2 separate regions of the Homo sapiens genome follow, and region 1 is linked to region 2. The links are contacts of gene promoters, found by promoter capture Hi-C in human tissues and cell types (Jung and others, 2019). All regions are on one chromosome and are shown on one strand. Each heading gives the region's core, a stretch centred on a gene start or on the middle of the fragment in contact. The rest is flanking DNA. Distances are from core to core; before and after follow the strand shown. Region 1 holds the start of ZNF683 (zinc finger protein 683). Region 2 holds the start of AUNIP (aurora kinase A and ninein interacting protein).

Region 1 (3,295 bases), core at 179-2,678, 510 kb after region 2:
AGGTGAAGTGGCTCACATCTGTAATCCCAGCACTTCAGGAGACCAAGGCAGACCCATCTCTTGAGCCCAGGAGTTTGAGATCAGCCTGGGCAACAAAGCAAGACCTCATCTCTACAAAAAATACAAAACTTAGCTGGGCATGGTGACTTGCACCTCTGGTCCCAGCTACTCAGGAGGCTGAGGCAGGAGGATCACTTGAGCCCAGGAATATAAGGCTGCAGTGAACTAGGATATTGCCACTGCACTCTAGCCTGGGTGACAGAGAAAGACCCTGTCTCTTTAAAAAAAAAAAAAATAGACATAGCAAAATGGGTGTAAGGCATGACTAGGCCAGGTGTGGTGGCTCACATCTGTAATCCCAGCACTTTGGGAGGCTGAGGTGGGCCAACTGCTTGAGCCCAGGAGTTCAAGACCAGCATGAGCAACATGGTGAAACACCATCTCTACAAAAAATACAAAAATTAGCCAGGCATGGTAGCGCATGCCTGTTGTTCCAGCTACTCAGGAGGCTGAGGTGGGAGGATCACTTGAGCCAGGGAGGTCGAGACTGCAGTGAGCTGAGATCATGCCACTGCACTCCAGCCTGGGTGACAGAGCGAGACCCTGTCTTAAAAAAAGTTAATAAATAAGGAAAAGACATGTCTAGATACAAAAAGGGAGACCTCATAGGCCAGAAAGTGGCTTTTTAGCCTGAGCAATGTCATTATTCTTGTGAGCATGAGAAGAGGCATCACCCCTGCGGCCTTACACAAATTCTGGTGTGCGTGAGTCTGGCCCAGGGTGCAAAAGCCCCAACCAGCCATCAATCTGCACCCCAGCCACGCCACCCTGGTGTCCCAGAATATACAGGGACATCTCAGGCTGTGCACCATGGGCTGGGGCATGTTCCTGGGGTTTCTCTGCCAGCTCAGCCCCTAGGGCTGTGACTCATCCTCCACATAACTGATCCCAACATGTTTGTGAGCATCTCAAGGACAGGGTCCTCTGTCTACTCATTTTGGTTTTCCATGTAGACATCTGTCAGGTTTTTTTGGACGCCCAGCCTCTGAAACTTTTCCCCTACATGAGTCTTGAGGGAGGCAAAAGGTACCTCCCATTATAAAAGCCGAAATGGCCAAATACTTAATTCCAACCTCCCTCACCAGCACTTCATGCAGGCATACATGGACTAGGTCGATCAGATGTCCCCACCCAGAAGGGGTGACCCGCACACCTTTGGCTTCCATCTGCCAGCTCTGCCCTCTCCTGGCATCACACTCTGCTCCCAACTCTCAGAACACCTTGCACAACTTCTCTGTTAGAAAAAAATAAAAACTACTTCCCCTCTATCCGCACTTCCCAACCTACTCTGGTGATCATGGGCTTTCCTTGGCTTGGGTCTCTGGTCTGGGTCAAGGCATCTGCTCAGGTTCCTCAGTTAGAAGACCATGGTCCTCCCTTTGTGCTACCTCCCCAGGGCATGTGGGACAAAGTGACATCACATTTAGGCCTGTGACATCACAGGGCATGGAGGCTGACAAGACAGATGATCTGGGAGACGAGAGCAAGGAAGGGCTTGGCAGGCAGAGGCTGCTCCATGTGGGAACCTGAGGGAGTCTGTCTTAGCCCACCTCCTGGGACATTTCCTTGCCAAGCCGAGTCTTGTGAGCATGAGAAGAGGCATAACCCCTGTGGCCTCACACAAATTCTGGTGTGCGTGAGTCTGGCCCAGGGTACAAAAGCCCCAAGCAGCCATTAATCTCCACTGCAGCCCAGTAGACTAGCAGATCAGAAGCTAGTGCCACTGGCTGAGCGCAGTGGCTCACGCCTGTAATCCCAGGACTTTGGGAGGCCGAGGCGGGCAGATCACTTGAGGTCAGGAGTTCAAGACCAGCCTGGCCAACATGGTGGGACCCCATCTCTACAAAAATACAAAAATTAGCCAAGTGTGGTGGCACGTGCCTGTATTTCCAGCTACTTGGGAGACTGAGGCAGGAGAATTGCTTGAACCCGGGAGGCGGAGGTTGCAGTGAGCTGAGATGGCTCTGCTACACTCCAGGCTGGGCAACAGAGTGAGGCTCCATCTCAAAATAAAATAAAATACAATAAAAAAAGCCACTGGTCCTGAGGTGGCAGGTCTGTGGAAACTCCTCTCTACAACAAAGGCTGTGGTACCACATCCGGCTTCCAGGGCAGTGAAGGAAAGAAGGGGGTTCAGGGGAGGCTGCAGAATCTGTGCAGGGCTGGTCCTGGGGTGTGATATTTGGCCATGGTCCTGTCTACTTCCAGCCTCCCTTGATCCATCCTATTCTCCAAGCCTTGCTCTCCAGCCTTCTCAGACCTCCTGCGAGCTTTTCTAACATCTTTTAAACAAATTCCTTCTGCTTAACTCCTCCTGAAATGGTTTTTGTAGCTTACAACTGATAATTCTGCATTATACATGCCCAGAATAGAAGATAAAGTAACAGGGTTCCAGCTGGAATTGTCCAAGGAACAGAGTAAATAGCCACCTTTACAAACAGCTTTCTTGCTGTGTCTGGCACTGTGCTAGGGGCTTCATAAACTTTATCTCATTTAGTCTTCACAATAAGCCTGTGTGGTGGATTTTATTATTAGCAGCTCATCCAGAGTCACACAACAAGTAGCCAAGAGCTCTTTAGTGGTAAACCTCAGACTCTGCCATCTCTTGGCCATGTCAGCTTCCCCCACTACGACAGCCACCCCCTCATTTCTTTCTTTCTTGCTCTCTCTTCCCACATGCTGTTCCCAGTCCTTCCCCCAACTCCTCAGTGGCCCCCTCAGTATCCTTCAGCGTAATGGAGGGGCTTAGTTCACCAAAACTCTACTCCCTAAAAGGAAGAGCCCTCTCAGACCCCCAGGCCACAAGCCCGCCTCCCCTGCTGTCTTGCTGGGAATCACAGGGAAGTGAGGGGCACCGAGTGAAGTTTCCTCCCCTCCAAGGCACTTCCCCACACACCTTTGGCTTCCATCTGCCAGCTGTGCTCCCTCCTGGCATCACACTCTGCTCCCAGCTCTCAGAACACTTTGCACAACCTCTCTGTTAGAAAAAAATAAAAAAGGAAATGGCCTTGGAGATTTCCAGGTCTCCAATCCTGAAAGCTCCCTGGCTTGGCTAGGAAATGCCCCAGGAGGTGGGCTGAGGACAGACTCCCTCAGGTTCCCACGTGGAGAAGCCTCTGCCTGCCAAGCCCTTCCTTGCTGTCATCTCCCAGATCATCTGTCTTGTGTCATCCATGCCCTGTGATGTCACAGGCCTAAATGTGATGTCACTTTGTCCCACATGCCCTGGGGAGGT
Region 2 (3,120 bases), core at 214-2,713:
TGTCTCTACTAAAAATACAAAAAATTAGCCGGGCGTGGTGGTGGCCGCCTGTAGTCCCAGCTACTCAGGAGGCTGAGGCAGGAGAATGGCGTGAACCCCGGAGGTGGGGCTTGCAGGGAACTGAGATTGTGTCACTGCACTCCAGCCTGGGCGACAGAGCAAGACTCCATCTCAAAAAATAATAATAATAAATAATAATAATAAAATGATCAAATTTCTTATCTATAAAACCAGGATAATGACAAAATCTACTTTACTGAATTTTGGTGAGTACCTGCCATTGATAAAGTGTATAAAGTCTCGGCAAAATGCCTGACACATAGAAAGCACTCAATAAAGGTTAGGTATTGTTGTTATTATTTATACACCTCTTTTCTTCCCTATAAGACTGTGAGCAACCTGAGAGCAAGAATCTTGCCCCTAGTGTCTGTTTTGAGCCTGTTTTCCGTATGTAAAATGGGTATCATTACACTATCTACCATATAGAATTGTACCAAACAAGGTAACATACCTAAAACACTTAGCACCAGCATAAAATGCTCAATAAACATGAATGATTATTATGTCGCACTTTTGTTTCTTTACAGTGACTGAAGAGCATCTTGCCTAGGTGACAGACCTGAATGTGATTTCCAGCTCCTTCTAGTTAGGCGGGCCTAGGTTAGTTACTGAACCTCAGTTTCCTCATTCCCAGCAAGAATGACGACACATATAACGCATATTCAGTATCTAATGCAGTATCCGGCACCCAGTGACTGCTCAGTACATAGGAGGCCAGCTCCCCTTCCCATAGCTTCTACTTTTCCCCTCAAAGTTACCGGTTCTGGGCAGGTAGTTGGCCTGCAACTTGGCAAATTGGGTGGAAACAGACCCCGGGGTGAGAATTTCCCCAATTTGCATTCGCATCCATCTCCCAATGCTCCAGCCTCTACTAGGACGTCTCGCAGGGACTGTGGCCTCCTAGGGAGCCTGGTCAGTTCAACTGCTCCGAGCGAACTTTCCCTCCGCCTCTCCCACACCTGAACCTTCGCCGCCCCTCCCTGCGCACCGCTCCTCCAGACCCCCCAACAGCACGCTCTTTCCTTCCGTCCCTCCCATCCTCCCCAAGCCCCGTTTTTCAACCTTCTTCAGACCACAATCCCTCTCGCCTGTGAATCCCCAACGCTGTTCCCTTCTCTGTCCCCGACTTCGCTTTCATCATCTCCAGGTGTCCCCCAAACTCCTCCCGTCTTACGCCTCCAGGCCCTACCTGGTTCCCAACGCCCTCTCATCCCCCAGCGTCCCACCTGCACTTTCCGCCTCTTCAGCGCCGCCGCGTCCAGCCACACGCCGCAGGCCTCCTCCTCGGGGCCTGTCCGCCTCATGGCCGCTGAGGAGACGAAGCCGGCAGGACGCCGGCGCAGGCTCCCGGCGCCTCAGGGAACGCCAGAACCGCGGCCGCCGACGTTCGGATCTCGCGCCAACGCTGGGGGCGGGGCTACGTCGCGACCGCCCCGGGCGCCAGCCCCGCCCCGGCAAGGCCCTGGCCCCCTTCGCTGTGCCCCGCCCACGCACTAACTTTCGCGGCCGGTCCCTTGAGTGCGTGCGGCATATTTCCCTGCGCGGAGGAGTGCGTGTTCTTTCTGATCCGCTCTTTCAAGAGCGGATTCGGAAGCTGCTGTGTGAACGGTTCTCGACAGCCTCAGAAATGTACATTTTCTTTTTGCTGTATTGAAAATTTCTTACAGTATTTCCCGGGCTTAGGAATTTGTTCGTGTCATCGCTGAATCTTCGCGATCACCCCCAGAAGGAAGTGGCTGAGCCGAGATCAGGCCCGTCGACTCCAGACCAGGGGTCCTCGACCTAAGTGGTTACCAGACACTCGAGTGTGCGAACAACTTTGGTAATTTTTTTTTTTTAATGTAAGCGTAACTACGAAGCCACATGGGAGAGGATTTTGAAGAGGTTAAAATTTGGGGTCAGGAACTAGATTTCAGTCCTGCTTTCACCGTTTACTGTGCCTTGGATTTTAAAGAGGATCAAATGAGGTTGTGAAAGTACTTTGTGAATTCAGAAAACCCCTTGGAAATGCAAAAATGTTGGCACCCCCACCCATCCTTCCGTCCCTAACCACAATCTCCATAGATGGAATATATGTACATTATACGTAATGTTTACATATTGTATATGTAAAAAAAATTTTTTTTTGAGACGGAGTCTCACTGTCGCCCAGGCTGGAGTGCAGTGGCGCTATCTCGGCTCACTGCAGCCCCGCCTCCTGGGTTCAAGCGGTTCTTCTGTCTCAGCCTCCCTAGTAGCTGGAAGTACAGGCGCACGCCACCACACCCAGCTAATTTTTGTATTTTTAGTAGAGACGGGGTTTCACCATTGGCCAGGCTGGTCTCGAACTCCTGACCTCGTGATACGCCTGCCTCAGCCTCCCAAAGTGCTGGGATTACAGGCATGAGCCACCGCGCCCGGCCAAAAATTTTGTAATTTTTTTTTTTTGGTGGAGGGAGGATAGAAGCTCAGCCACCTCTTGCCCAGTCTGCAGCAGGTCAGCCAGGAACCTCAACCATCTCTGCAGCCAGAGCCTGTCTTCATGGTGGACAGAGCCATCTCGCTTTGTCACCCAGGCTCGGGTACAGTGGCACAGTCTCAGCTCACTGCAGCCTCAACCTCTTGGGCTCAAGCGATCCTGCCACCTCAGCCTCCCAAGTAGCTGGGACTACAGGTGTGTGCCACCACGCCTGGCTAATTTTTGTATTTTTAGTAGAGATGGGTTTTCGCCATGTTGGCCAGACTGGTCTCAACTTCCTGCCCTCAGGTGATATGCCTGCCTCAGCCTCCCAAAGTGCTGGGATTACAAGCGTGAGTCACCATGCCTGGCCTATATCAAAATATTTATTTATATACACATATTTTATGTGTGTGTGTGTGTGTGTGTGTGTGTGTGTGTGTGTGTGTATTTCATAAGGTCCCCCATGATATTTCAGCAGTGAAGTGATATTTCTAATTAATTTGGGTTTTCTTATCTTCCCAATTTTCCTTCATTGTATATATATTGCTGTGTACTATGGAAAAAGCAATATTATAAAAGTTAACATACTTCTTCGGTGCGCATGCGACGAGGCTCAATAT

Evidence for each region. The method cuts DNA at HindIII sites, captures the fragments that hold promoters and counts their contacts. A contact is called where the count stands out against the background at its distance.
Region 1: the fragment with the promoter of ZNF683 here is called in contact with the fragment with the promoter of AUNIP in region 2 in 1 of the 25 tissues and cell types used here (adrenal gland).

The regions. Positions count from the first base shown.
Region 1 is chr1:26,371,322-26,374,616 of GRCh38, forward strand. It overlaps ZNF683 (zinc finger protein 683), which reads right to left and starts at 1,429. Exons shown (of 6, transcript NM_001114759.3): 1 at 1,348-1,429. The HindIII fragment of the contact is 13,714 bases long and covers 1-3,295 here.
Region 2 is chr1:25,857,994-25,861,113 of GRCh38, forward strand. It overlaps AUNIP (aurora kinase A and ninein interacting protein), which reads right to left and starts at 1,464. Exons shown (of 3, transcript NM_024037.3): 1 at 1,287-1,464. The coding sequence starts at 1,364. RefSeq lists enhancers at 1,119-1,744, 1,642-1,871, 1,745-2,370 and silencers at 1,362-1,621, 2,222-2,281. The HindIII fragment of the contact is 14,334 bases long and covers 1-3,120 here.